Regions from separate parts of the Homo sapiens genome. Here regions 2, 3 and 4 are each linked to region 1. The links are contacts of gene promoters, found by promoter capture Hi-C in blood cells and fetal thymus (Javierre and others, 2016). All regions are on one chromosome and are shown on one strand. The core of a region is centred on a gene start or on the middle of the fragment in contact, and the rest is flanking DNA. Distances in the headings are between cores, read along the strand shown. Region 1 holds the start of NRXN2 (neurexin 2). Region 2 holds the start of LOC124902690 (a long non-coding RNA gene). Region 3 has its middle 36 kb from the start of SLC22A11. Region 4 has its middle 13 kb from the start of SLC22A11.

Evidence for each region. Contacts are between HindIII fragments. The CHiCAGO score rates a contact against its expected background, and 5 or more counts as called.
Region 2: a fragment that was not itself captured here is called in contact with the fragment with the promoter of NRXN2 in region 1 in 4 of 17 cell types (M1 macrophages, M0 macrophages, megakaryocytes and 1 more); the score reaches 8.4 in M1 macrophages.
Region 3: a fragment that was not itself captured here is called in contact with the fragment with the promoter of NRXN2 in region 1 in 1 of 17 cell types (M0 macrophages); the score reaches 5.7 in M0 macrophages.
Region 4: a contact is called between a fragment that was not itself captured here and the fragment with the promoter of NRXN2 in region 1, in 1 of 17 cell types (M0 macrophages). The highest score is 7.3, in M0 macrophages.

What each region holds. Positions count from the first base shown.
Region 1 is chr11:64,719,213-64,726,319 of GRCh38, forward strand. NRXN2 (neurexin 2) reads right to left here and starts at 3,985. Exons shown (of 23, transcript NM_015080.4): 1 at 3,759-3,985. RefSeq lists silencers at 3,865-4,159, 4,146-4,445 and enhancers at 4,826-4,875, 6,085-6,923. The HindIII fragment of the contact is 9,459 bases long and covers 3,101-7,107 here.
Region 2 is chr11:64,496,613-64,503,719 of GRCh38, forward strand. LOC124902690 (a long non-coding RNA gene) reads right to left here and starts at 4,282. Exons shown (of 2, transcript XR_007062721.1): 1 at 3,409-4,282; 2 at 1-4. The HindIII fragment of the contact is 292 bases long and covers 4,258-4,549 here.
Region 3 is chr11:64,515,889-64,522,995 of GRCh38, forward strand. No RefSeq gene overlaps it. Among named protein-coding and RNA genes, the nearest start is that of SLC22A11, 36 kb to the right of the region's middle. The HindIII fragment of the contact is 8,566 bases long and covers 304-7,107 here.
Region 4 is chr11:64,539,165-64,546,271 of GRCh38, forward strand. No RefSeq gene overlaps it. Among named protein-coding and RNA genes, the nearest start is that of SLC22A11, 13 kb to the right of the region's middle. RefSeq lists an enhancer at 820-1,358. The HindIII fragment of the contact is 4,414 bases long and covers 1,251-5,664 here.

The sequences.
Region 1 (7,107 bases), core at 2,735-5,234:
GGTGAGAAAAGTAAGCAAGACAAGTATTATCACTGCCCCTTTTACAGATGAGGAAATAGATACTCAAAGGGGAGAAGGGACCCACCCAAGGTCCCACAAATCATAAATGGCAGAGCTGGGATTCAGATTTGGTTCTGTCTAATCCCTATCCCTCGTGTCCTCCTCAACTCTGCTGGTCAATTGTCCTGACTCAGAGGGCAGTAGAAGGAACAAACAGGTCTAAAGATAAGTCGGAGTCCCATGCCAGGGTGGGCTGGGCATGAGCGGCCATGTCTGCAGGTCGCCAAGCAGCTCTCTGTGTCATGGAGAGAAGCATGGAGCGGGCTGGGCCCAGGAGCTGGTAGCTCGGGGTGCACAGGATGAGGCTGCTGCCGCCTCATGGAGCTGGGGAAGCGGGTGGGCTGGGGACAGAGGTGCAATGGAATGACTTGGTGGAGTGGGGGCCGGAGGACAGGTGCATGGGAGCATGGAGGTAGGTGGTGGGAGGGATGAGCACCAAGCTTACCTATGCTGTGCACAGCTGGGGCACAGCAGCCTGGGCGGGTGCACCCCAGTGATGCAGAGGGGGACAGATGGCTTCCAGGGGCGGCCTTGTGAGTAAGCATGAGGTGCCTGGGAATGTTCCTAAAGGTATCTATGACAGGTGTGTGCGCGTGTGTGTGCGTGCAGGGAAGGTTATGATAATGACAATAAAAATAGCTACCATTTACGGGGACCTTCTATGTGTCTTACAAATACCTCAAAGTAAGGTTTACAGAGTGCTTCGCACAAGGCCAGGCACACAGTAGGTACACAATAAACATGCTTGTTACTACTATCATTGCCATCATTGTCCTCTCAGTGAGTCCTCATAACATCCCACTAGGTAGGGATGAGGATCCCATTTCACACGTGAGGAAACTGAGGCTCACTGAGGAGCACAGCGGAGTCCCACCTTCACCCTCACCCCACCATGCCAAACAGTGGTGGTGGCAGTGGGGAAGCAGCTTCGTAAATAACAAGGTGCCACACACATCCTTGAAAGTGTGCACCAGACTATTTGTTGAATGAGTCTCCGAGAGCCCACAGGCCCATCAGTGTGGAAGGGGCAGGGGCGAGGGAGCTGCACCAACAGATGGAGCAGCAAGGTGGGTGGCGTGTGAGGACACACAATCGGGGCATCCCCGTGGGGGCTGGGCTTGGGAGCTGCGAATGAAAGGACAGTGTCTCCAGTGCACAGGCAGGTGTAGGGGCCCTTGTGCCTGAGGATTAATGCGGGGGGTGGGGCCACTTAGAAATGGGAAGGCTCCCAGGGAAACCAGGTGTAGGTGGGGGCTGGACTCCACTGGGAAGGGTCGTGGTTGTGGCCAGGAGGGGTAGGAGGCCCTGCGCCGAAGGTACAAAGATAAGTGAGTGAGAGAGAGAGAAAGTAGAAGAGAGGTTTAGGGGGTGAGCCACAGCATTAAGTGTGTTAGCAAACATGTGCTGGTGTGCACACACACGTGCACACACACAAAGGCCTGGGGCAAGGTGTTCAGCACCCAGACAGACATGCACATGGTACTTCAGGATGAGCTTGCTGGGGGGCAGGGACTGGTGTGTCTGGGAGGGTGTGCCCACATGCTGTGTAGACCTGGGAGGGATGGGGTGTCTGGAAGGAGAGGGTGTGTTGCAAGGACTGAAGGTGTATGAGGAAGAAGCACAGGTGTGCCTGCGATGGCTGTGAGCCTGGGGAGGTGAGTGGTTGGATGGGGGCTGTGTGCATCCAAGGGTGAGGGCTGGCAGTGCTGCGCTGGGGGCTCTGGGGGCACGTAGTGGCCGTGTGTGTGTTGTGTACATGGCAGCAAGGCACCTGGGGGAGGTCTCAAGGAGGCAGGCATGAGGTGGCAGCCTCTCTGGGTGGGGAGTGTGGGCTGTATGCTGCCAGGAGGTGTATTGTGTACGCAGGTGTGTGTGCCTGTGTAGGTGTGTGTCTGGGTGGGTGCCACCGAGCGCGTGTATCATTGTCAGAGTGTCTGTGTCACTGGCAAGGGTAAGCGGGAGGGAGCAGCTGGACCTGGGTAGTGACTGAGCCTGGAAGGAAAGAGGGGTCCCCACCAGCCACTCGCGCACCCAGCCCCTCCTCTCAGAACTCCAATGTCATATGGATTCAGCCCAGGCCTGGGCTGGAAAGAACTGCCCGGCAGCCGTGGCTGGTTGGTCCATCCCGCCCACCCCTGTGGATCTGAGGATAGGATGGGTCTGAGAACACTTCCTCTAGCATGAATGAAGAGCCCCCAGCCAGACCCTTCTCCCCTGTCTCCCAAAAGATCCAGCCACACCTCAGATGCCAGCATCCCTAGAGCCATCCCTGGAAGCAAGAGGAGGTAGGGACTGAGGGGCTGAAGCACCCACAAAACAGAAGGCCTCACAGTTAGCAGACTGCAGACCTCCCTCCCCTTCTCCTTCCCTCTCCCTTCTTTCTTTCTCCTTCTCTGGCAGAAGACAGAGAAAGTAAGACCCTAATGTCCACCCTCCTCCAAAAGGAACACCCAGACACTGGGAAGGTAGACAACAGGGAAGGATAAGAATGAATGGAAGAGGAGAGACGCCCACCCGCCAACACATGAAAAAACAGGGCTATCTGGAAGCCCCCAGGGCAGCCAAGGGACTGGGGACCCAAGACCCACCCCCTAAAAATCTATTTCATTATTCCAGGTGGACAGCCTCCTCCTTCACCTCCAGACACCAAGAAAAAGCCCCTCCCAGCCCTTGCTAGCTCAATGAGGCATCGAATGCCCTCTCCCAAGATTCAGGAGGGGGGTGAGAGTAAAGGAGACAACAGCACCCCAAAGCCAATTGTGCCCCAAAAGCCCATCAAGGGTTCAAGGGCTCATACCCCAACCCAAAGACCCCAGGGAAGATTGCTGCTTCAGCTGGGGGAGGAGGCTGGGACATGAGAAATGGTCCCTTCCTCTTTAGGGGTGGGGGAGCAAGCCAAGGGCCCTGCAGCTTCCTCTCCCCCTGCAGCACTCTCTGACCAGAACCCTGTCACCGCCCCCAGCGCATTCCCACCCCAGCAAAGCCCCCTCCTACTGATTTCCCAGTCTCCCTGTCTCATCACCCCCAGCCTTCCCCCGCAAGCTTCCGCTCCTCTCCCTCAGACCCCATCTTTCCCAGCTCTCCACCAGCACAGACCCATCTCTGCCTGGAGCACCTTGGCACATTCCCCTCTGCTCTCTCCCAATAACCTCTTCTCCCCTTGGCTCCCATCCCCCAGGAAAGCCTGGTCCTCAGTGGGTCCCCTCAGGACGAAGCCCTTGGCCTGGCCCCTTTCCTTCCCTCTCCACTTCTCTCTCTTCTCCAGCCCCCTCTCCTCTCCTCCCACGAAGCCCAGTTTCTCGCTGGTTAGACCCTCCAGAACACAACAGCTCCTCTGGCCCGGCGCTGCTTCAAGCCTCTGGGGCTAGCACAGACTGGGGACCCCCCTTTAAGAACCCCCTCTAAGTCCTCTGGATGCCCCTCCTCTCTCCATCCCTTCCCCCAAAGACCCTTCCTCCCACCCCTCCCCATTCTCCTCAGCTCTCAGGGCCAGTGCCCCTTCCACAGGAGCCTCCGACCCCCAAGCCCCCAGCGGCTTTGCCTCCTCGCTGTCACCGGGCCAGCCCTCTCAGCGCGGCGCCCCCGCCCCCCAATTCATCCGTCCTGCCTCCCTCGCCCCCTCCGATCCGCTCCCCTCCCCCGATCGGCTCCCGCCCCCCGCCCGTCTCCGCCGCAGCGCCCCCCCCCCCCCATTTTACCTGGTTCTCGGGGCGCCAGAAGCTGGAGGGTGGGTAGCAGAGCTACAGGGCCGCCCCGTCTCCGACGGGTGGCAGAGCCAGGGCTAGCGGTGTCTGCCGCCTCGCGCCTCTCTCCCTCCCCGCCGCGTCCCCGCCCGCCCGCCCGCCCCGCCGCGGTGCCTCTCCGAGGAGGATGCTCCGCGAGTCAGGGCGGCTGCTCCCGCCGCCGCATCCCTGCAACACCGACTGACGGCAGCATCAGCACCAGTGCCCGCCCCCGAGACGCGCGCATTGGACCACGCTGCGCTGACGGGCGAGCAGCGCAGCCAATGCAAGGGCTCAGAAGCCGCCAGTCCAGCGGCTCCACAGGCCCACTCCCTCCCTCGCGCGGGACCCAGGCGTCCCGGCCCCAGCACCCGCGCTCCTCCCAGCCTCTCGAGGTTCTCGGGCGCCCGGGCCCCCAACCAGGCGGGCCCCAAACCCGGCCTCAGTGTCTTTTCCGGGAACCCAAGCACTCTCGCCCCTCGCCCCTCGCCCCTTAGTTCGGGGCCTTGGGTCCCGCACCCTCCCCCCACGGCCAGCAGGTCTTCGCGCAGCGCGGGGCTGGGACAAGCCGAAGGAGAGGCTGTGGACCCCGACTTGGGACGCCGCGAGAGCAGGGCTGATGCGGGGCCTGGGCCGCAGCGCCCTCTGCTGGCTACCCCCAGGGGCGGGCCCGGGCTTCGAGGAGCCTAGAGAAGGGGGACTCGGTGGGTCCATGGCTGCTGGGGGCTTTTTCCAGTCGGTAGCCTGGCCCCCACCTCCCACCGTCCGGAGGGCCCCTGGCTTGGAGCCCCCAGAACTGAAGAGGAAGGGGCTTTGCTGGGATAAAGACGGAGGCGGTGGGGGAAGGAAAGGCAGAGATGGGGGCGGGGTAGACCTAGGAACTTGGGGGTTTCCCAGTCCTGCCTCATGGGAATCCCAGAGTTTGAGGCCAAACTCTCAGTTCTGCCTGGAACCCTGGACCGAGGTACGAGTAGGTGTGGGGGCAGGGTTGCGCCTGCACATGCCTGGTGACTGAGGGCACCTGGCAGCAGCCCCCTTCTCTGTTCTCCTCCTCCCATCCATGAGTTTCAGTTAGAGTGGTGCTGGGGGGCGCAGGTCTCTCCTGTAAGGGTACATGCATCACTGTGCATGTGTATGAGTGTGGGGGACTGGGGGACACCCTTCACTCACTCCGCCAATAAAAGTGTACACACACTGGCACTTAGTGTGTATACCCCGAGGTTGGTCACTGGGCTGCTGAATGAGACAGTGAGAGACAGAGTGTGTGTGTGTATGTGTGCCAGACCATTCTGCCAGCTCACTCCAGGACCCTGGTTTCTGTTGCAGGGTCTGTGATCTGCACAGCTGGTGGTAGTTGGCACTTCCTTAGCCAGAGGCAACATGCAAGAACACTTACATTCAACCACCAATGCATGGACATTGGGGCACTCACAGCCATGCACACATATCTGTGAACACTGGGCATTCCCAGAGACACATAAGAACACCTGCAGAAATGCCCCACCATGGTAACACACCCACAGGAAGCATATACTGCCCAAGAACACACACACTTGTGCACACAGGTACCTACACCAGGCAATTAATGCATGCCCAGAACAGCTGCACCCAGGGGACCTGCCCACAGTCATCCTGGACCCCTGCCCAGGCACTTCAAAGAGAGTGGTCAATTACTGAGTGGCTTAATGCGGACACCAACCCCCCGGGTGGGAAACTCCTTCCCCAGCCTGTGAAGGGGTAAGAGGGGGACCCAGGCTGCAAGGAGTTTTTCCTAGGAGTCGAGAAGGGTGATCCCTAAGCCAGGTCCCAGACTTAGGGCCCACTCTGACCTTGGAGAGACCCCCAGGGCATCCCCACCAAAGCCAATGAAGGAGCCAGAGAATGGAACTGCTGCGTCAGGGCCTATGAATGCGAAATCGCCTCCCTGACCCCACAGCCCACTTTCCTGCCCATCCCCCACTGTTCCTCTTCCTGCAGCCTCCTCACACTCACACACACACACACACACACACACACCCCTTGTCCATCCAGGCATCAGGGCATAGACAGACAGATGCAATGGCTCACAGAGACAGACTCAGACCCTTACAGAGGAGCCTGGGCAGGGAGGGAGGTAAGTATGAGCACTTGTCTCCTTTCCCTACCCCCAGCTTTGCCCATCAAGGGCAGAAAAGGTCACCGGGCAGCTGCTGCATCTCCCTGTCCCTCCCACCTACAGGGACATCTCTCCTCTCTGCAAGGTCCAAGGTTCAGATTGCCTAAGCATTTGGGACCTGCCACTTCAAGACACACCCCACACACACACACACCACACACAGGTACCCACCCAATGTGGACAGTTGAGTGATATGCTGAGCACATGCCCTTCTCCCATGTGCAAAGGCCAGTGGGGACACATGGGGGAGGGGAAACACAGCAGATACAGCATGCATGTCCATGCACACACATGCACACAGGCGCATACAATGTGAAGCTCAGACACCAAATTCAGACACATGCAACCATGAAGACCGCTACTTGTCACATCCCGGGCAGGCAGACCTGGACACACATATGCATGCATGCATACACACACACACACACACACACACACACACACACACACACACCAGGAAGAGGCCAGACTGGAACTGGAGGGTAGTGACGAGAGGAGCCAAGAGGAACCGACTGGGCTGCAGGGATGGAGGCAGCACAGGAGGCAGGCGGCACAGGAGCGAGCTGCTCTTCACAACACAATCGCCGTCTGTTGTTATAGCAACTCAGCCCCCAAATCGTGAAACGGATATTACAGCCTCAAGAGGGGGAAGGGCGGAGGGGGCTGAGGACAGAAGGAGGGGCAGGGGGGCACCCGATGCAGAGACAGGGCTGGGGGGCCCAACACAGGGTAGGCCTGCAGGAGAGATATGACCAGGAAAGAGAAGGGAGTGACCCAAAATAAAGAACAGGCCAGGGGGAGTGGGGTCTCAAAGCAGGGATGGATGTGATGTGGGGAAACCCTGGGGTGGGGGACCGGGGCACTCATGGGGGAACTGAGGCCACTGCCAGGCCCACAGATACTGTGCTTTGGAGTGGAAGGTGCTCAGGTCTCCACCCCTAGGACAATCCTACAGCTGCTGTGGGACACCTCCCAGTTTGGGGGACTGAGGAGGTAGTTCCCATTGTCAGGACTGCTGTCTGGAGTCTCCTGATCCCAGGGGCAGCCCGGCCCAGCTTCAGAACCTTTAGTAAACTCCCAGACCAGCCTCAGAAGTGGCCTTAGCCTTCTTTAGGTAGCAGTGACCCCCAAAACCTCCGTGCTGCAGGCTCAGGAGGGAAGAGCTGGGTT
Region 2 (7,107 bases), core at 3,154-5,653, 220 kb before region 1:
GTACCTGGAAAAAAGAAAAGGAAAAGAAATATTATCTTTAAAGGAGAATTACATCCCTCAGGTCTCAAGTGTTTTCTACAATTAATTTTTTTTCTTTTTAGACAGAGTCCCCTTCTGTTTCCAGTCTGGAGTGCAGTGGCTTGATCTTGGCTTACTGCAATCTCTGCCTCCCGGGTTCAAACGATACCCCTGCCTCAGCCTCCCAAGTAGCTGGGACTACAGGTGCGCACCACCACGCCCGGCCAATTTTTTTTTTTTTTTTTTGAGACCAAGTCTCACTCTGTTGTCCAGGCTGGAGTGCAGTGGCGCGATCTTGGCTCACTGCAAGCTCTGCCTCCCGGGTTCACGCCATTCTCCTGCCTCAGCCTCCCGAGTAGCTGGTACTACAGGCGCCCGCCACCACACCCGGCTAATTTTTTTGAATTTTTAGTAGAGAGGGGGTTTCACTGTGTTAGCCAGCATGGTCTCAATCTCCTGACCTCGTGATCCACCTGCCTCAGCCTCCCAAAGTGCTGGGATTATAGGCATGAACCACCGCACCTGGCCTAATTTTTTGTATTTTAATGGAGACAGGGTTTCACCTTGTTGGCCAGGATGGTCTCGTTCTCCTGACCTCGTGATCTGCCCACCTCAGCCTCCCAAAGTTATGGGATTACAGGCGTGAGCCACTGCACCCGGCCTCTATAGTTAATTTTTAAAATAGTTATCAGGCCAGGCGTGATGGTTCACACTTGCAGTCTCAGCACTTTGGGAAGCCAAAGTGGGTGGACCACTTGAGGCCAGGAGTTCGAGACCAGCCTGGCCAACATGGCGAAACCCCATCTCTACTAAAAATACAAAAATTAGCCGGATGTGGTGGTGGCCACCTGTAATCCCAGCTACTCAGGAGGCTGAGGCAGGAGAATCGCTTGAACCTGGAAGGTGGGGGTTGCAGTGAGCAGACATAGAGTCACTGAACTCTAGCCTGGGAGACAGAGCAAGACTCTGTCTCAAAATAACATAAAATAAAACAAAATAAAATAAAATAAGGTATCAACTACACATTCCAAAATAATCAGATGCATGAAGAGACACTTAGAGCAAGAACCAGCACAAACAGTAACAGAGGGACACAATATTCAATATACTATAAAAACTGTAGACTATGGAATAATTATGTTTACTATGTTCAAGAAAATACATGCTATGCTTGAATTTTTTGGCCAAAAATAAAAAAGCAGCAGCAGCAATACCTGACATAGCAGCTTTGACAAAGAACCAAATAGAAATTCTAGAACTAAAAAATAACTAAAATTAGGAATTCCACTGAATTCCTAATTCCTAAGACAGGAATTCAATTATTAGTTTATTATACATAGGTATAGAGAGAATTAGTGAACTGGAATATAGGTCAGAATAAACCTGGCAAAATAAAGCATGAAGAAACAAAACCTCTCTGTCTCTTGTCTCTCAGAAGAGAGATGAAAAGATCTAATCTGTTTCATTAGAGCCTCAGAAGAGTGGCTGGAGGAAATGGTGCAGAAACATTTGGAAAGATTATGGCTGAGATTTCCCTGGATTTGAGGAAGAACTAATGTTAATACTCATAGATGAGTTAATACTCATAGATTCAAGAGGCCCGAAAATACCAAGTAGGATAAAGAGAAGGAGGAAGTAATTGCAGCTTTGGCTGCCTCACAGAGAAGCCACTGTCCCTGCCATGATGATGAAATTCCAAGAGGCACCACATCAGCCCCCGCCCCACTGTGACCCTCGCCCAGACCACATGGATGGAGGAAACTGAGTCATGGTGTCAGGGAGCCATACCCTGGTCACTGCTCAAGAGCTACCTTCGAATCCTCATTTTGAAAGTGAAATTGCATAATTTTCACTCCATGTACTCTGGAGCCTATGTATAAGAAACTAAACTTTAGAAGCAAGGAGATAGGACAAGAGGAAAGGCAGTCAACTTGGCCACCATACTGGTGACAAAGGTGGGCACCAATGGGAGGGGAGCTGGGGTAATGATTCAGCCTGGAAAGGTGAGTAGAACCAGAGGGAAGGCACGAGGATGACCCATCAGGACCAGGTGGAAAATTCCACTGGGATCTGTGCAGTCCCTACACCCTGCTTCCCGCAACCATCCTCAACCCAACAGCCCCACAATCCCATTCTACCACAAAGATTATGTAGCTCCTTCTTTACTGTCCTGAAATGGAATTCAGAGATACATTTTTAGACCTCAATATAATTCTCTGACAGTAATAAAGAAGAAATAAAGATAACTTAAATAAAGTAATCTGTATTATAATAGATAAATGTCCAAGCACAACTCCACTAGGAGACATGGTCTTCCAAATGGGTGACTAAGTCTTGATAAAAATTGGAACAAAACAAAGTACAATCTCATTTCACATGATAGTTGAAAACTTCAGGATTCAGTTAAAAATATATATAATATAAAATATAACACATTATATTTTTATATATAGTAAAATAATATTAGGTTTTAGGTGCTGAATGATTATAAACAAAGTACTATAATAAAATTTAATTTTGAAATTATGAGACTTCTTTAGCATTTCAGAATAACTTTAAAATGATTTAAAATGATTTTAAATGCAGTCCAGTGGACATTCAGAAGTTGTGCGGGATATGGATGAATCTTGGTGGTGTGGGACCACCTTGCCCACTGTGGAACATTTTAAGTCCCCACCCCAGTTTTTGCGGATGCCAACAGTGTCCTCACCCAGTCACTGTGATACAAAATGCCTCCAGAAGTCTCCAAACCTATTCCGGGTTCTGCCCGTGTTGAGGGCTCCTGGTTTAGGGTGTGGGCTGGGGCTGGCACTGTGGGTGGACACTTGTTCCTCTGACTGCCTGCTGGCCTCACCACCCCTGTGGGCCACAGCCTTGGAAAGAACAGTCCTCATTGGCTTTTTCTTCAAACACGACCCTGGGGATGGCTTTAGTAGCTCCTGGAATGGGGAATCTTAGCCCCGTCTATGGTCAGGTGTCTCCCCAGCTCGCTGAAGAAGAATGTGAAGGGAGAAAGGCTGAGAAGGGCCCCATTAAAGGCGGAAGAATCGCTTCCTCACCTTTCCCCAGTGAGAGAAGATGCGCTTTATTTGTTCATAAAACACACCCATAGCAAAGGCCTGGCACGGTGCACAGTGTGGGGAGCAGAGGATGGGGTCCTGCCCTCCTAGAGTGTACAGCCTGGGTGTGTGGGGGAGAGAGATAATAAACAAGGAAATAAACGGTTACGAGTGTCCCAACAGTCACAGGAAAGAACAAGTGCTGTGTGTGGAAGAATAAACCAGAAGGACGCCACAAAGGAAGGACGGTTGGGGTGGGGGCGGCCACAAGAAGCTCCCACTCTGTCTTCAGAGCTTTGGGTGGGGGGGCGGGTGCCCAAGCTATACTCACCCCTGAGGCTGTTGGTCTCTGGCCAACTTTAACAATGATTCAGGTCTCACTGGACGCACAAGGTATACGTCCTTTCAGAAAGAATGCAGAGCAATGGAAGAGTGGGTGGATTCTTTAACAAAGAAATTGCAAAATTCCAGCAAAATACAACATTTTGGAAGGAAAATCCCTTAGAGGCTCCCCTTTGGTGGCATAGCATCATGGAAATGAACCAAAGAAGAAATGAAACATTTAAAGAACATCCTAAGTTTTAAATTAGACCCAAATGCTGCGACCTCATCAAATAAACACCCAATCCACCAAATTCTAGCCCCACCAGGAGGAGTTAAGGAAGGAGCACGCTCTCAAAATGGCACCCGGGGCCAGCCCTGTGATGGGCGGACTCGGGTCACGTGACCCCAACTGCGTCTTCAAGACTGATCTCTTGTGAGGCTCTTAAAGCGGCGCTCCCCAACATTTCTAGCACCAGGGACTGGTTTGGAGGAAGGCAAATTTTCCAGATGGTGGGGGATGGGGGTGGGGGTGGTTTCAGGATGATTCAAGGGCATTTCATTTATTGTGCACTTTATTTCTATTATTATTACGTTGTAATATATAAGGAAGTAATTATACCCCTCACCATAATGTAGAATCAGTAGGAGCCCTGACCTTGTTTTCCTGCAATGCGACGGCGGCGACAGATCATCAGGCATCAGGTTCTCATAAAGAGCGCACAGCCTAGATCCCTTGCATGCGGGGTTCACAGCAGAGTTCGTGCTCCTGTGAGAATCTAACGCCGGCACTAATCTGACCTGAGTGGCGCTCTGGTGGTCACGTGAGCAACGGGGAAGCGGCCGTAAGAACAGATGAAGCTTCACTAGCTCCCCAGCCGCTCGTCTCCTGCTGTGTGGCCTGGTACCAGTCTGTGGCCCAGGGGCTGGGGACCCTTGCCCTAAAGGCTCCCGGGGCCGGCTGGGCCTGCTTGTGGGTAAGGGAGAGAGGACAGAAGCCTGTGCTGCTCAGGAGCCCCCACCACATAATGCCCTGTGTCCCAGATCCTAAATTCCTGAAAAGGCTAAAGTGAAGGACGATATTAGAGGATATTGAAAGTTTTGTTCCACAACTCCAAAACTTCTTTTATTGCAAAAAGATTTCCGTACCAAGCTTTGACATATATATATATAAATTTTTTTTCTTTTTTGAAACAGGGTCTTACTCTGTCACCCAGGCTGGAGTACCGGGGCAAAATCTTGGTTCACTGCAGCCTCAAACTCCCAGGCTCAAGCCATCCTCCCACCTCAGCCTCACAAATAGCTGGGACCACAGACATGCTCCACTATGACTGGCTAATTTTTAAACTTTTTTGTAGAGACAGGGGTCTCCCTCTGTTGCCCAGGCTGGTCTTGAACTCCTGACCTCAAGCGATCCTCTCGCTTCAGCCTCTGAAAGTATTGGGATTATAGGAGTGAGCCACCTTGCCCAGCTTAAAAATGCCTATTAAAGAAAATTTGGAAAACATATAAAAAGGGAAAAAGTCAATTCTATCTTTGTTTCCGTTTTGCTATCTGTCCAGTGCACTGGGGTGTGGAATGCTAACCTCGTCTCCTCCTACTACCCATGACTCTGCCACCTCCCATCTGTCCTCCTGCTTTTCATCGACCACACCTCCCACCTTGCGACCTTTGCACTGGCTCTTTCCTCTGCTGGAATGCATATTCCCAGAATCTGTATGGCTGACTCCCTCACCACTGAGTCTTTACTCATACACGACCTTCTTGACGACACTGACCTTGACCGCCCCACTTGTAATTGCACTTCCGACCACTCCTGATCCCCCTCCCGGTTACTCTGCTTAGTCTTATTCCTATAGCATTTACCACCTTCCTGCAAGCTAGGTAATTTACTTCTGGATTATGGTTATTTTCTATTCCTGTCTCCCCGATTGGACTGTGTCTATGTCTGTGTCTATGTCTACGTCAGCTGCACGGGCATAGAGATTTTTACCATTTTCTTCACAGGCATATCCCAAGCACCTGGAACAGTGCCTGTCATATACCAGGTGCTCAGTACATTTTTACTTGATGAATTAAATTAATGAAGCCTGGCTGATATTTATTGAGTACTTACTCTGCGCCAGACATTGTTTCAAGTACTTTACATTTTTCCAACAACCCTTGGAGAAAGTTTTAATAAACCCATTTTACAAATGAGGAACCCTAGGCACAGAAAGGCTAAGCAACTCGCCTAAGATCACACAGCCAGTAAATGTCAGTGCCAGGATTTGAACCCAGGCAGTCTGACACCAGAGCTCATAGTCTCAATTGCAGTGAACACCACAGAGCCAGGCATGTTTTAGTGGTCACTACATTTTAGTTGAATAAATGAATAAATAACTAAAAACCAAATATATCAAATAACATTCTAATTTCTCTGCCTAGAGATCAATACTGGCCAACACATGATGGGACATTTTTCTTGACCCTCTCCAATGTGAATTACTTCCTTTTATATGGAAGATTGTGAGCCCTTTGAAGACCTGATGGAAGCTATTGGACAGTAGAAGACACAGAGTGTACATGCAGGTGAAATGTTGCATGCAATTTTCAGGGGCTTAATGGACCTTCCCCATCACATTACAGTTCTCCAGAGAAACAGAACCAACATGGGAGATCTGTGTGTATGTCTATGTCTGTGTCTGCGTCTCCATCTCTGTCTATGTCTGCCTCTGCGCCTGCACCTGCGTCTGCATGTGCGTTTGTGTCTGTCTGCGTCTGCGTCCGCGTCTGGATCTGGGTCTGTGTCTGTGTCTGTGTCTGTGTCTGCGTCTGCGTCTGTCTGCGTCTGCGTCTGTCTGCGTCTGCATCTGCGTCTGCATCTAGGTCTGGGTCTGTGTCTGTGTCTGTCTGTGTCTGTGTCTGCGTCTGTATCTGTCTGCGTCTGTGTCTGTGTCTGCGTCTGCGTTTGTCTGCATCTGCGTCTGCATCTAGGTCTGTGTCTGTGTCTATGTCTGTGTCTGTGTCTGTCTGTGTCTGTGTCTGTGTCTATCTGTGTCTGTGTCAGTGTCTATGTCTGCGTCTATGTCTATGTCTATATTAATCAGGATTTTCCAGAGAAACAGAACCAATGGGATATAGATAGATGATAGATGTGTACATAATATATATAGAGGGATAGATGGATAAAAATAGATAGATAGATGATAGATAGATAGATAGATATGAGAGGAGCGTTATTAGGGGAACTGGCTCAGGTAATCAAAAGTTGAGAAGCCCTGCAATATGCCATCTGCAAACAGGAGAAGCAGGGAAGCTGGTAGCGTGACTCAGTCCAGGCACAAAGGTCTGAGAACCAGGGGGCCAATGGGGTAACTTTCAGTAGGAGCCAGAGGCCTGAGAAACGGGGATCTGCTGGTGCAAGTCTCAGAGTCCAAAGGTCAGAGAACCTAGAGTTGTGATGTTCAAGGGCAGGAGAAGAAGGATGTCCCAGTTCCAGGAGAAAGAGAGCGAGCAAATTGAGCCCTCCCAAGCCTTTTTGTCTGTCCTGGCCTTCAGCCAAGTGGATGGTGCTCCCTGCACACTGAGTAAGGGTGGATGTTCCTTACTCAGCTTACTGATTCAAATGCAAGTCTCTTCCAGAAACATCCCCAGACATACCCAGAAATTATGCTTTACCAGCTGTTTCATATTTCATAATTTTGTCAGGTTGACACCAAAAATTAAC
Region 3 (7,107 bases), core at 3,337-5,836, 200 kb before region 1:
TCAGTGCTTTTATTTTAAGAAGTACTGTTTTTATTTTTCCAGTATTGTATTCTTCCAGGTTTTAGAAATTTATTAATTTCTGAAGCTGCATCAGTTAGCACACAGTCAAGAGACAGGAACCACCCCAGTTATCTGAACAGAGAGGATTTAATATAAATAATTGTTAACTAGATAAACAGTTGTTAACTAGGTAAATAAAATGGTAAAAAAGAGAAATGTAGCCTATCAAGGGATTAGCAACCACAGGCAGCAGCTGCCACCCCCAGGGCTGAGGGAGCAAAGGGAAGAAGCTGGAATTATTAAAGCTTAGTAATTAAAGGAGAGGCCCCCTGGGCTTGGGACCCAGACTTCTGAGGAGAAACTCTGGTGGGTGCTGGTGTATCTGTGGGATAGAGAGGGGACAAGACGAAATTGGTTTGCAAATGTCTAAAAAACTGCAAGCTGGATTTCACAGCTGCAGGAACTGCTGCAGCCAGGGTGAAGCAGCTCTGCTGGGAGGATGCTCATCAGAACAGGAAGCCAACTGGAAGGAGCAGGTCCCTTCTTCCAGCCCAGCTTGTTAGTCTCTCTCTAGTGCCCCCTATTGGCAGACCCTAACAGGGATGTGACTGTCAAAGCAGAAATGTTTGCAGAGTTCCATCACCAGTATCACAAAACCGAATACAGAAGGCTGGTTTGGAAATGAGACAATAGTTTAATAACGGACCCACTTGCTTATGAAAAACAATTCAATGACGTTTGAACACTTCAGTTCACCTTATTCCATCTTATATTTCATTGGCGAATTACAGTGACTACAAAAAGTTGCCTTAGCTTTAGTTTGTTTTTTTAATCTTTCAAAATAAGTAATATATTACTATTTTATACAGTCTATACATCTTGTTAAGAATTATCCACATCACACCCGTTCATTTGCCCATAATTTCTTCTTCTTTTTTCCTCTATAAACTTCTCCATTCTCCTATTAGTGCTTCCTAAGACTACGAAAACAATCAAGTTGTACACAAATACTTGTGTCAGGGTCAGCTTCTAGGATAGCTAAAATTAAAACAGAGCCCAAAGGCTCCTGTATCAGAATTAATGAATGTAACATTTTAAACAGACTATATTTATACTGTTAAAAGAAATAAAAGATGGATTGAAAACATGAGTAAGATATAAGAGACTTCAAACATAACTAGGCACATTTTTTAAAAAGCTAATAGAATTCCTAGAACTGAAAGTATTATTATTGATATTAAAGACTCAATGTATAGACTGCAGAACATACTGAACACAGTTGAAGAGAGAATTGGTGAAATGGAATGTAGACACTATACAGTAAAAGTCCAAAGAGGAAAGTAAAGGAAGTCCATGGATGCATTACCAAGCAAGTGTCAATGTGAGCCACAGAAATGCAAAGCAGAGGAACTCTGGAGACAGTGCAGAACATGCATGGGGGCTATTCCAGTCTGGAGGTATTTATTTTCAAACTTCTTTTCATCATTGGCTGATGTTGCAAGGATGTTGCAGGGGAATTAATTTCCAGGCACTTCCAGTCTTCTCCCTGTGCATTGGGACAGAGCCTTTAGACAGACACTTGAAAAGGATGCCACCAGCATGCACTGGAACAGTGAGGGCTGAGGAGACTTGGGTGGGGCACCTAAGGGAACATCTGCCATCATTCACCCCTTGAACAGCTCAGATGCACTCATGCTGCAAGTAAAGTTGACTCTGCTCCATCCCTGCTTCTTCAAGGTTGTGGCCTATCACAATTTCTAAAAAATAACAGGCAGGTCAGGTGTGGTGGTTCATGCCTGTAGTGCCAGCACTTTGGAAGCCTGGGGCAGGAGGATCACTTGAGCCCAAGAACTCAAGACCAACCTGGGCAACATAGTGAGACCCCAGTCTCCACTAAATAAATAAAACAATTAGCTGGGCATGGTGGTGCACACCTGTAGTCCCAGCTACTTGGGAGGCTGAGGTGAGAGGATCACTTGAGCACAGTAGGTGGAGGCTGCAGTGAGCTGTGATTGTGCCACTGCATTCCTGCAGCCTGGGCGACAGAGTGAGACCCTTTCTCAAAAAAAGAAAAAATAATACAACCGGAATATTAGCAGGACGAAGTGCAGTCCCTGCCGCCTCAGTGGGTCCCAGGGCCATACCTGACATTCATTATCTCTTTCCTCTACCAACTATTCTGGATTCCCTGCACCCTGGGCCTGTACTTCTGCTGGTCTTGGTGGCTTGCCTGGTGGGGTGATGCAGACTTCATCCCTGAGGTGTCTGAGCCCCTGGTCACCACACCTGGCGAGGCCATGGCTGCTGCAGTTGCCCGTTCAGACTTATTACCATACCAAGCACCAGGAGGGGCTGCAGCGAATTCCTCAGTCTTCAGACAAAGTCCTTCCTGCTCCTATTACATGGCAGCATACAACCACCCTCACCAAATGCCACCTACTAACTGGAGTCCTTAACATGTCCCCATTGAAGCATTCCCCTTCCCCAGTGGGAAATAACACCCCTAGTCCAAGCAGAGCTTGAAGTCGTGGAGATGGGAAACAAATTCGCCAGGGAGTCCTGCGGATGATGGTGAGAGCTTCCGCCCCTACTTCCACCCCTACTTTCACCCCTTGGGTCCTCTCACTATAAGGGACACACACCATGGGGTGGCCATTGGTTCAGAGTATAGATCGCACCTTCCAACTCAGTGTCCCAGTGCCCTAGGGTGTCTTCCCCAAACTGGTTTCTTCCCCAAACATTCCACCCAGCCGGCAGATGCTTAGATGGAGACCCTAGTGGGTCCTCTTGTCCTGCCCATCATCACAACTATTTTGCTGTAATTTGATTCTCTCAGTTCAAGGCCATGTTATTTGCAATCCCATAATGGCAAATTAGACACCCCGTGAGTCCGCAGACTCACATGAGTCCAGAGTACTAGCTGGAGCCCTGCAGTCAGGCAAGGTAAAATCCTACCTGGAGTAGGGGTCAATTCTGGTCCAGAGGGCTTGCTGCTCCCTCCAGTGTAGGGGGATTAAATGCAACCAAGCTGCTGTCACATAGCGAGTTGGTCTCCTCCAGGGACAACACCATAATGAGGGCCTAGCGTTAGTCTCTGCTCCTGAACACGCAGGTGTTTAGCCGAAGCTGGATCAGCCTTTGTGAGCCGGACTCCAGGCACAGATGGAGTGAACCCATGCACGGTCTCCCAACCCACCACCGTGGCGACTCCTTGCACACACTCATTGTGCAAGTGCAGAGGTGGCTGTGGGCAGAGGCTGGTTGAGCTCTGCTGGCTGAGTCACCTTTTCTATCTGGTTCTTCAGTGCTTCATCTGCAGTTGATAATTTCAGGGGGCCAGCGGTGGTGTTGACGTAAGACAATGTGCTCACTCCCATTTGCTCATTCCCATCACTCTTTCCCAGGCCATTTTTTTCTGATCTTCCAATCTCGTTCCTTCCAAGTCTCTGACGAACCAGCCCAATCAGTTACCATTGCCCAGAGTCTGTGTACATCCTTACCTAAGTGGATAACCAGGTGCTTGCCTGAAGCTCTGCTGGCTGGATCGGCTTGGAGTGAGGCAGCATCCATTTTTTATTTGCTCCAATATATCAAGCCAATATATCAAGTTTTTTATTTGCTCCAATATATCAAGCCAATGAATGAGACCCAGAGGATCCCAGCCTCTGTTAGCCAGGTGAGGTGTGAGCTGAGAGAGGCAGGGATGCCAGAGATGGGTGACATGGGGTCTGGGCCACCTGTTTGTGTAACCTGTTTATACCATTAGGACCTGCTCAGGCATGTTCCTGACTGTTCCATTTTCATCATTCAGTGGATTGTTTTCATTACGGCCAAACACTCCGGCTTGGCAAGCCTGGTGATGCCCAGCTCAAGATGGGCAGCTCTACCACGGAGTCACTGTTGTCCTGTGCCAGGCATGAGTGTCTGTCTATGAACTACTTTTCAGTGGTGACCAATTCTCTGCTGCTGACAGTATTGCCTGGTTCTTGCGTCCACACCGTGAATCCCCTATCTATTCTTTCCAGATGCTTTCCAGGCTTTCCACAGCATCCCTCTCTGCCACGGGCAGCTCTGGCACCGCAGGATGTGAAAAGATGCAGCCCAAGTGGCAGAGTTACTTATCTGGCACCTGAACCTTCTAGAGAGAGAGACATTTCTTGCTCTCAGATCCAACAAAACCGGCAGTCTCCAAGTCATCTCATAAAGAGGTTGGAGCAGTATTCCCAAGTGTGCCATGACAAGAGATCATCTCCAAAGTCCCAAGAGGCTTACCAAGGTCTGTGCCTTTTCCTTAGTGGTGGAAAATACAAGATGACGTAACTCATCCTTTACTTTGAAGGGAATGTCTCAGAATGACCCACACCACTGGATTTTTTTGTTTTTTTTGAGTCTTGCTCTGCTCCCCAGGCTGGAGTGCATTGGCGTGATCATAGCTTACTACAGCCTCGACTTCCCAGGCTCAAGGGATCCTCCCACCTCAGCCTCTGGAGTAGCTGGGATCACAGGTGCACGCTACCATGCCCAGCTAATTTTAAAAATTTTTCGTAGAATTGGGGTCTCTCTATGTTGTCCAAGCTGGTCTTGACCTCCTGGGCTCAAGTGATCCTCCTGCCTCAGCCTCCCAAGTAGCTGGAACCACAGGTGTGCACCACCACGCCCAGCTACTTAAAAAATTTTTTTTAGACATGGGGTCTTGCTATATTACCCAGGATGGACCCCTGGATCTTTATTGAGATAGCAGACCCCTGAACCACTCTAGGGCTTATCCCCCACTCTCTGCAATGCATGGGTGCCTTACAAGGGCATGTAGGGTATGTTCCACTTCCTGCTTACCAGGTCTGATTAGCATGGCATCTTCAGTGTAGCATCCCTATGTGATGTTCTGTGGGATGTCCAGATGATTAAGGTCCCTGTAAATGTGTACTGCTGCTATTCCAGGTAAGTGCAAATCAGTTTAGATACATCTTCCTGATAGGGTTTGAGAGGGTACACACACCAGATCAACAGCTTTACACCGAATTCCAAGGCTGTGCTGATCTGTTCTACTGAAGACATTGTACATGGCACAACAGCAGCACTTGGGGCTCCCATGCGGTTGGGTTTACAAGAGTCCATCATCATCTGCTACAATTCAGATGACTTTTTCAAGGGCCATACTGGTGAATTAAAGAGGGATATATTAGGGACCACATTCTCTGCATCCTCTAAGTGAATAAGGGTGACACTCATCTCTGTCATGATGCTCAGACTTAGTATTGCTTCTGATTTTCCATCTTGTAAGTGTCTCCAGCCTAAACATGTGCTCAGAGACTAAAGAAATGGCCATAGATGGTTCTCCAGACTCACTGGCTTCCTGAAAGGTAGACTTGGGCCAGAACTTCATTTATCACGTGGCTTCTGTAGACCCCACTCTAATGGGGGCGGTCACGATGGTATTTTGGGTTCTCTGGGACCAGTGTCAATTCTGACACGTATCCATCAGTCCTTGAGAAATCTGGGCATCCTCCTTCCCCACTATAAAAGCTATTCTGATAAATAAGCAGAGCAGAGGGATTGGGAGAATCCTACTGTGTGGGCTTTCAGGATCCTTCCTCAAGAGGACCTTTCTTCCCTTCAATCCGCAGGCTCTGAGTCTGAGAACTAGCACGAACCTAGAAGTTGGCGAAGAGATAATAATGTTTCCATTGAAGTGGCTGGCCTCAGCCTTCTGCTCACACATTCTTATCCTTTTTTGGTTACATAAGTCAAATAAGCACACTGGCTGCCCACCTACCCTGCCTCTAGAGAGAACACAGTCTTTTTTTGTTTTGTTTTATTTTTTAGATGGAGTCTCGCTCTGTCGCCAGGCTGGAGTGCAGTGGCGCAATCTCAGCTCACTGCAACCTCCACCTCCCGGGTTCGAGCGATTCTCCTGCCTCAGCCTCCCGAGTAGCTAGGATTACAGACATGCACCACCACGCTCAGGAAATTTTTGTATTTTTAGTAGAGATGGGGTTTCACCATGTTGGCCAGGATGGTCTCGATCTCTTGACCTCATGATCTGCCCGCCTCTGCCTCCCAAAGTGCTGGAATTACAGACATGAGCCACTGCGCCCGGCCAGAACACAGCCTATTATTCGTTACCACAGAGCCCTGAATGTCAGGCTCCTGGTGACCTTTCCACCCTCATTGCACATTTTGGTAATGGCATCATCTTGCCTCTGAGGGTTAAGAGTGCTACATGGTCTCTGCCGTTTTGGGATCCTCTCTTCTCCGTGGACACTAGGGAGGCCAGTTCTATAGCAGCCTCCCGTCATCAATCCTGTACTGCAGATGATGACCACAACCGGATTTGGCAACGCCGCCGGGGCTTCCTTCACTGGTGCATGTCTTACAGTCTTCACAAGCAGAGTCCTCTGGCGCTCCCTGGGAACATACACAGGGAGTAAGTTCTCCAGTCTTCCATCATAACTTCATTGTAACACGTGCACCTTCTGAGCCACTTGATCCCTTTCTTGATCAAAATCTGCCAAGGTAACTCCAGCATTTCTTCCTCATCTACTGCAGGCCATTGTTGCTAAATCTCAAGATGGCAGCCTAGTAAAGCATTAGGCACAGCTCAAGCTGCCCTTGTCATGATGAAGACTCCTGAGTCACGGGACGGTGCCCCTTCATTGGTAAATTCTCCCCCTCCTGGCCTACTATTCCACCCCTAATCTTGCCCAGCACACTCCATCCACCCCCAGGCATGTGCTCCCAGGTTTGTAGGTGCACGTTAGCAGGAACCTGCAGTTCCCCTCCCTCTCTTCCCTCTCGTCTTCTCCGTAGTCTCTTCTCTCGTATTTGGCCACAGCCGGGCAAGCCTTCCCAGCTGGCCATGCAGAGACTTGACCATCTGCTGTAGGTGGGATTGTTCTAGCCCACCTTTCATGAAGGAAGCAGCCTCTCAAGGGTTCCAGGCTTACAGGTAGGAGGGGGCTGTCATTTCATCTCCTCCCTTCCCGTGGGCTCCAGGCCTTATTTCCCATCCCCATGGGGATCTTAAAACCAAGACCTCTGTTCAATTCCACAAAAACCATTTGCTCCTAATTGCCCAGGCTTTCTCTTCCATTTCCCTGTTTGTTCCAT
Region 4 (7,107 bases), core at 2,208-4,707, 180 kb before region 1:
GGAGAGAAGCCTCAGGATGTCGTGGGGGTCTGGGCGTCTGGGGGTCTGCCCTATCCTGACAGAGGACCTGAGGCGACAGGAGGAGCAGGGTGGGGCAGAGCCTGGCACTGCCCTTCGCCCTGGGAGACATCATACCCTTCAGTGCCCAGAACTACAGGGCAGGGACCCAGCTCTATTTTACCAAGTCCAGAGCCCAGATGTCCCCTCCCCCAACCAGAGGCAGCAGGAGGCTGGGCCTGTAGCCAGAGGCCCCCAGGAAGCCCCCATCTGCCCCGGCCTCTCCTCTGGGTAAAAGCCCTGCCCTCATCAGGTGAGGTGTGGCCTGACCCAGGGCCTGGCTGCAGTGGGCTCAGCAAACGTTCTTTACTGACAGACTGGGTTCCCCACATAGCCCTGTGGGGCAGGGATCCTCTGAGCAGCGGTAGAAGAGGAGTTCAATGTGCCTTCACACAGCAGGATGCTTAGTCTCTTTTCAATTTTCTTTCTTTCTTTTTTTCTTTTTTTTTGAGATGAGGTCTTGCTATGTCGCCCAGGCTGGTCTTGAACTCCTCGGCTCAAGCAATCCTGCCACCTCGGCCTCCCAAAGTGGGGGGATTACAGGTGTGAGCCATCATGCCTGGCCCCCTTTGCAATTTTCTTTCAGCCCCCTTAAGTCACTCGAGCAGGAGAATCTGCCTCCTGGGACTAGCAATGCCTTATTCTTAAAAACAAAGAATGCTGGCCTCAGCTCAGCTCCCTTGGCAGGCGAAGGTACCCAGCCAGAACTGTCACATTTGTTTCATTTGCACAGGATATTTTTACAGTTTTCTTCTATTTGTGGCGAGTGATCCTGGTTTTCCAGTTGTGGTCGTTGCTGTAGACATTCTGGGGCACATAAATGATTTAGAAGTCAGTTCGCCGAGAGAAAACCATGAATTAGATAATAGTACATGTGATCTGAAGATATGGCAGGAGTCACAAAGGTATGTAAATGACACAGGTTTGGAAAATGCTGCTCTGAGGCAAGACAAGGATCACCTGCTGGGTCAGGGATGCATTATTTTGTGACTGTGTCTTGTTCTCAGGCTATGGTGGCCTGGAGGATTTGGGAACCCCAGAACAGATGTGAGTTGATTAAGCATACACATGGCACTTCCTTTGTGGCCGGGTACTCCCCTAAGTGCTTTTCTGATGTGGCCTCACTTCATCCTCACAACTATGCCATCAGTCCAATGTTCCCATCTTACAGATTAGGAAACTGAGGCACAGTAAGCTTAGCAAGCTGCTCTGAGTCTGCCCAGCCGGTGAGTGGCAGAGCCAGGGTTTGAACGTGGCTGCCTGGCCCAGGGTCTGTGCTATGAGCTCCCACCGGGGTCCCAGCGTCTCAGCCCTTACGCCCTGCAGGGCAATTGTCGGTGCTGCGGTTGTGTCCCTGGGTCACCTTTTCAACGTGTGCCCTGCAGGAAACACAGGCCTGGCCCTGCCTGGTGCTGGTGCCTTGGAGCCTCTTAGAGTTGTTTTGTCATTTGCTGCCATGGGGGCCGCAGCCTCCACCAGGGCCCCTGCTGTGTGGGCACCGAGGGAGACTCAACATCCTTGGGGGTGGAAATCCTCTCCTGAGACTAGGGTGGCCGCTGCTGTGACTGGTGTCCCCAGGCCAGGGAAGCTGAAGCACGAAGTGTGACTGTTATTGTCCTTCCAGGGCAGAGTTAGGGGAGTGTTGGTCACTAAATGTGATAACAGGCGCCACCAGGCTTCCCTCCAGGACCGGGCATTTGGAGAAGGCACCCACCCTCCTTTCAGGACAGTGGCAGAGGAGGGGTCAGATATAAACTCACCCCCGGTTCTGAAGATCTGAGGACCCCTAAAGAACATTTCACCCCACTCCCTCCCATCACTGACCCCATCCTCCTGGGCATGGCCAGCCTGGGGGATTTTCTCCTTCTGCCTGGAACTGACACTACCCAGGACTCAGAGGACGGTGAGCAAGGTCCTAGGGAAAGGGTCGATGATGAAGAAACGAGAAGACAAGGTCCTAGGGACAAAGTTCCAAGGGAGAGGGCTCCCTGGTGGCGACAGAGAGAGCCCAGAGGTGCCCGGGTCCTGCTGGGCTGGGACGTCCTGTCCTCAGTCTCCCAAAAGGCTCTGGGGTCAAGCTGTCCCCTCGGCTCCAGGTTCTGTTCTGCCCGCGTTGTGAACAGCTGGAGGCCCCTACTCTGCAGGGTGCCCTGCCTAGGGGCCAAAGTCACTGACCCAAGGCCTCAGTGGCCAGAGGTGTCAGGTCATCCTATGCACGATGGGACCCGTCTGGCACTTGGGTTCATTGGCTGCCAGTCCCTATGCCGCCCTGGCTGCAGGTCTCCCGACCACATGTCCAACCCCTCAAGAGGAGCATCTGCCTTCCATATTCATCGTTCTAGAAGCAGGAGGAAGTCAGGAAGTGGAACTGTGACTATAATAGAAAAGGGGTCTTGATCAAGACCCTAAGCAAGGGTTCTTGGATCTCACACAGGAAGGAATTCAAGGCAAGTCACAGAGTGCAGTGAAAGAAGCAAGTTTATTAAAACTCCTCCATTCCCAGCCTGGCGTGGTGGCTCACACCTGTAATCGCAGAACTTTGGGAGGCCGAGGCGGGTGGATCACTTGAGTTCAGGAGTTCAAGACCAGCCTGGCCAACATGGTGAGACCCCATTTCTACTAAAAATACAAAAATTAGCTGGGCTAGTGGCTCGCGTGCTTGTAATCCCAACTACTCAGGAAGCTGAGGCAGGAGAATCACTTGAACCTTGGAGGCAGAGGTTGCAGTGGGCAGAGGTCGTGCCACTGCACTCCAGCCTGGGCGACAGAGTGAGACTCTGTCTCAAAAAAACACAAAAAACAAAAAACAAAAACAAAAACAAACAAAAAAACCCCTCCTCCATTCCAGAGTAGAGCACCCTCAGAAAGCAAGCAGAGGACCGCCCCGTCCTTAAGTTTCTCTTATACAGGGGTCTTATCTGTGTAAAGACTAAACTAAGCTGTGCCTACGTGTGGCTGGGCTGACAGCATGACAACAATAATTATTCTATTTATTTAAGAAAGCTATCCTTGACATCTTCGTGTGTGAGTACATCAAAGCATAACTATAATTTTTTGAAAGCATATATTGTTATGGGCATTGGGACATCTGGACTTTCTGCTGTTGTAGGAGCATGTCCTTGCAGGTATCTTCAGGCTGTGTCCCTAGATGTAATTATCTTATGACTGAGTCACGACCGGCAAAGAATGTCCCTGTTTGTGTCGAAATGGAGCCGAATTTAAAATGGCATCACTGTGGCTCTCCCCGCTCCTGCTTCCGTAAAAGAATCCTTCAAGGGAAGAAGAGAATCATTGAGTGAACATTGTGTCTGTCCTCCTAGGGCCTCATAGAAACCTAGATTCAAATCTCCCTGCCTCCAGGACCCCCATGCAGAGGTGGCACTTCTGCTCCCCACCCCCCGTGTCCCTGAGGGCAGACCCCAAGAAGGGAGCATGGCCCGAACCCCCTTGTCCCAGCCCACCTCACGGCCACCTCCCCTGCCGCCCTTCCAGAAGGACACAGCAGCCCCCACACCCCGTCATTTTCATCTGTCAGGGCCCTCCCCGCCCACCAATTGGCCCTGGCCTGAGGCGTTGGGGGCTGAGAAAGGGTGATATGCTAAGAAGAAATCAGGGTGTGGATGAGCAGAAATACCTAATCGCTTGTGAAATCCCTGGCGTGCTGGGACAGCTTCCTCCGGGCCCTGGTGACACCGCAGTCCTTGTCAGCATTACCCGGACAGGAATCGACAAGCCGAGGGCCCGGGGCAGCAGCCTGATGTCCTTCACATGCACCGGGCGGACAGCGGAGGCCCCGGGCCCGGGGAGGCGGCAGCGGCCGCTCAAGTGAACCCGGGTCTGGAAGCTCCTTACAGCACGATGATGCCCAAGCCCGGCCGGGCAGCTCTCTGGACCCCTCGAGGAGGGTCAGGCACTGCTGTTACACTCCCACATCCCTGGTGGTTAACATTTACCACGGTCTTTCCATATTTATCCAATTCTTATTTAGTGCTTCCTTTTACTGTGTGTAGTCACTGTCCTAAGTGCTCTACTTACACCTTCAAAACGACCTACGAGACAGGAACTACTATTATACATTTTACATGGAAGGAAAGTGAGGCACAGAGAGGGTCAGTCACTTGCCCGAAGTTACTGAGCTGGTAACAGGCAGAGCTGGACTCTGTGCCAGTGTTTCGGCCACTGTACAGTTGCCTGTTTTCTCATCTGTTCCCCGGTTAGATGGGGCTTTTGAAGTCAGGGTCTATGTCTATTTTATTCTCCTTTACCTGCATAGGAATTGGCAGAGCTCTCAGGCTGTCAATAAAGATCTGCTGATTGAAATAATGAATGAGACTGGGCACAGTGGCTCACACCTGCAATCCTAGCACTTTGGGAGGCCAAGGAGAGAGGATTACTTGAGCCCAGGAGTTGCAGACCAGCGTGGGAAACATAGTAAGACCCAATCTCTATTATTTTTTTTTTTTAATTAGCTGGGCATGGTGGCTGCATCTGTAGTCCCAGCTACTAGGGAGGCTGAGGCAGGAGGATTGCTTGAACCCAGGAGTTTGAGGCTGCAGTGAGCCATGATGGCACCACTGCACTCCAGCCTGGGCAACAGAGTAAGACCCTGTCAGAAAGAAAGAAAGGAAGAAAGAAGAAAGAAAGAAAGAAAGAAAGAGAGAGAAAGGAAGGGAGGGGAAAGAAAGAAAGAAAGGAAAGAAAGAAAGAAAGAAAAGGAAAGGAGGGGAAAGAAAGAGAGAGAAAGGAAGGGAGGGGAAAGAAAGAAAAAAGAAAAGAAAGAGAAAAAAGAGAGAAAGAAAGAAAAAGAAAGAAAGAGAGAGAAAGGAAGGGAGGGGAAAGAAAGAAAAAAGAAAAGAAAAAGAAAGAAAAAAGAGAAAAAGAAAGAGAGAAAGAAAGGAAGGAAGGAAGAAAGAGAGAGAGAGAGGAAAGGGAAGGGAAGGGAAGGAAAAAGATGAATGAAGGCCAAGGTAACCTATAAATTGCAAGAGTTATGGTGGACATTTAATGTACAAACCTACCTCCATTCTTGGAGTTTAGACATTTCACCAGGCATGTGCCAATTTTTCATCCTTGCTACCCAAAGCTACTGGGATGTTGCAGTCTAAACGTTTCCATCTTCTTCAGCTCAGAGGTCCTTTCTTTTCTTCCTTTTCAACTCTTTGTGCTTTTGCACTGGGTTCCAGGAAACTCCTTTGTCATGAACTTCCAGGTCACTGTATTCCCCTCATTATTCAATCTATTAATTAGTGGTTTCAGAATTTGCCCATCAAGTTGACAATTTCCAAAACTGAAAAGATTTCCTTTTCTCGGGAACCTATTTCTTTTAAAAAATTGATGTCCTCTCAAATTTCCCTGGAAATAGAAACTACAGCGGTTTTACCTTTTTCTTCTGTTTACTGCATTACTTCATCGTCCTCCTGTGTTGGTTCTTTTGTTTGTTGAGTTTGGTGTCTCTCTTTTGGTGCATTGGATTCTTGCATTTTTAGTGTTTCTTTGTTGCCTCTTCATATTTGAAGATGGTGGGGGGAGGGATATGGACAAAATTGTTTCCTAGAATGTCCTTCCTCAGGCTAAGTGGGAATTCCTGTTGGCTTAGCCATGCATGAAAGCTTTGTGCTGGAGAACCCTGTCTACAGTGATTGTGACGTGTGGGCAAGTGAAAGAGGCCTGTGGCCAGGAGGCACTGGTGGATCTGATTTTCTGAGTAAAGGGTTCTGCTTCCCCATGGGATCCTTAAGTTGCCTGGGGTGCTGCCCTTTTTCTCTGGCCTACCATGCAGTTTCAGAACTCCATTTAGCTGTTCTTGCACCTTGACCTCCAGGCAAACATGGAATTCAATGCCAAGTGGTGTTTGGTGGAGGGAGGGTGGGGCACAGTCAATCTGCTCACCCTGATGCTGTTAATTACCCAGATGTTCTTGGCCTGTGCCCACACTGCAGCCTCTCACCTAGTGCTGTCCTCCTAGGAAGGCTCAGGTGTTTGGGCCTCCTTTCCCTCCTGCATGTGGTGCAGGTCCCTTGGTCTGAGGTTTCATTGTCCATCTGTCCCATGATCTTTATGTCTTATGCAGATTCTTTCCCTAGTTTTCCATTTCTCACCTTTCCCATGCTGCTCTGGGACTGCCAAACTATTTCCTTTCTGGATCCACTTGGATTTGGTTGGAGGAGGTAAATGAGTGCCCCACTAGCCATCCTGAACCGTGAGCCCCTCCATGTCCCTGGGAAAACAGAGAGCTGTTTGACCCAGGAGACCTGTGTGACCCAGAGCTTCGGGTTCTTGCACCTCTTGGGCGATGTCACCCAGTAGGTTCCTTAAGGGCAGGATCCTTAGTTGGCAAAGAAGTGGCTGAGTGAACTCAGTCTGTAGCTAGGTTGAGACCAATGAAGAGAAGGGTCTGAAGTCTACCTGCCGCCAGGGCAAGGGCGCATATGTCAGGAAGAGTGGGAAGGGGGGCTGGGGAGAACGTATGCCCCCAGGCTTCTGCCTCTCCAGTTGTCTGCGCAAAGAACAAATCCTAGTGCGCTGTGGCAGGGGCGGCACGTCTGTTTGCTCTCACGTGCCACTCCGTTCCTTGCTCCATTGCCTGATGATGCAGAGGATAGGAATGGACTTGGCCATGGCGCGCTGCCAGCCTGCATGGTGACACACATCCCCTCGCTTATTCAGCAAGCACTGAGTAGGCACCTCCAGTGTGCAGGCAGGGCTCAGGCACCAAGGGGTTTAGTGATATGCGTTCCCATCTGCAAGGAGCTTATATTTCGACGGAGAGGCTGCCATGGAAATAAACATAAAGTCCCTCTTGGAAACCCCTTCCGAGGAGATAGAAGGTGTGGAATAGTCGTGGCTGTGGAGAATGGTCAAGGCCAGGGCGTCTTAAACTTCAGTGGGCACACAGATCACTTGGGGCTCTTAGTAAATGCAGATTCTGATTCTGGAGGTCTGGGTTGGGATCTGAGATTCTGCCTTTCTAAAGAACTCACAAGTGACATTGATGCTGCTGGTCCATGGACCACACTTTGAGTAGCAAGGGTAGAGGGAAGCCCCAGCTTC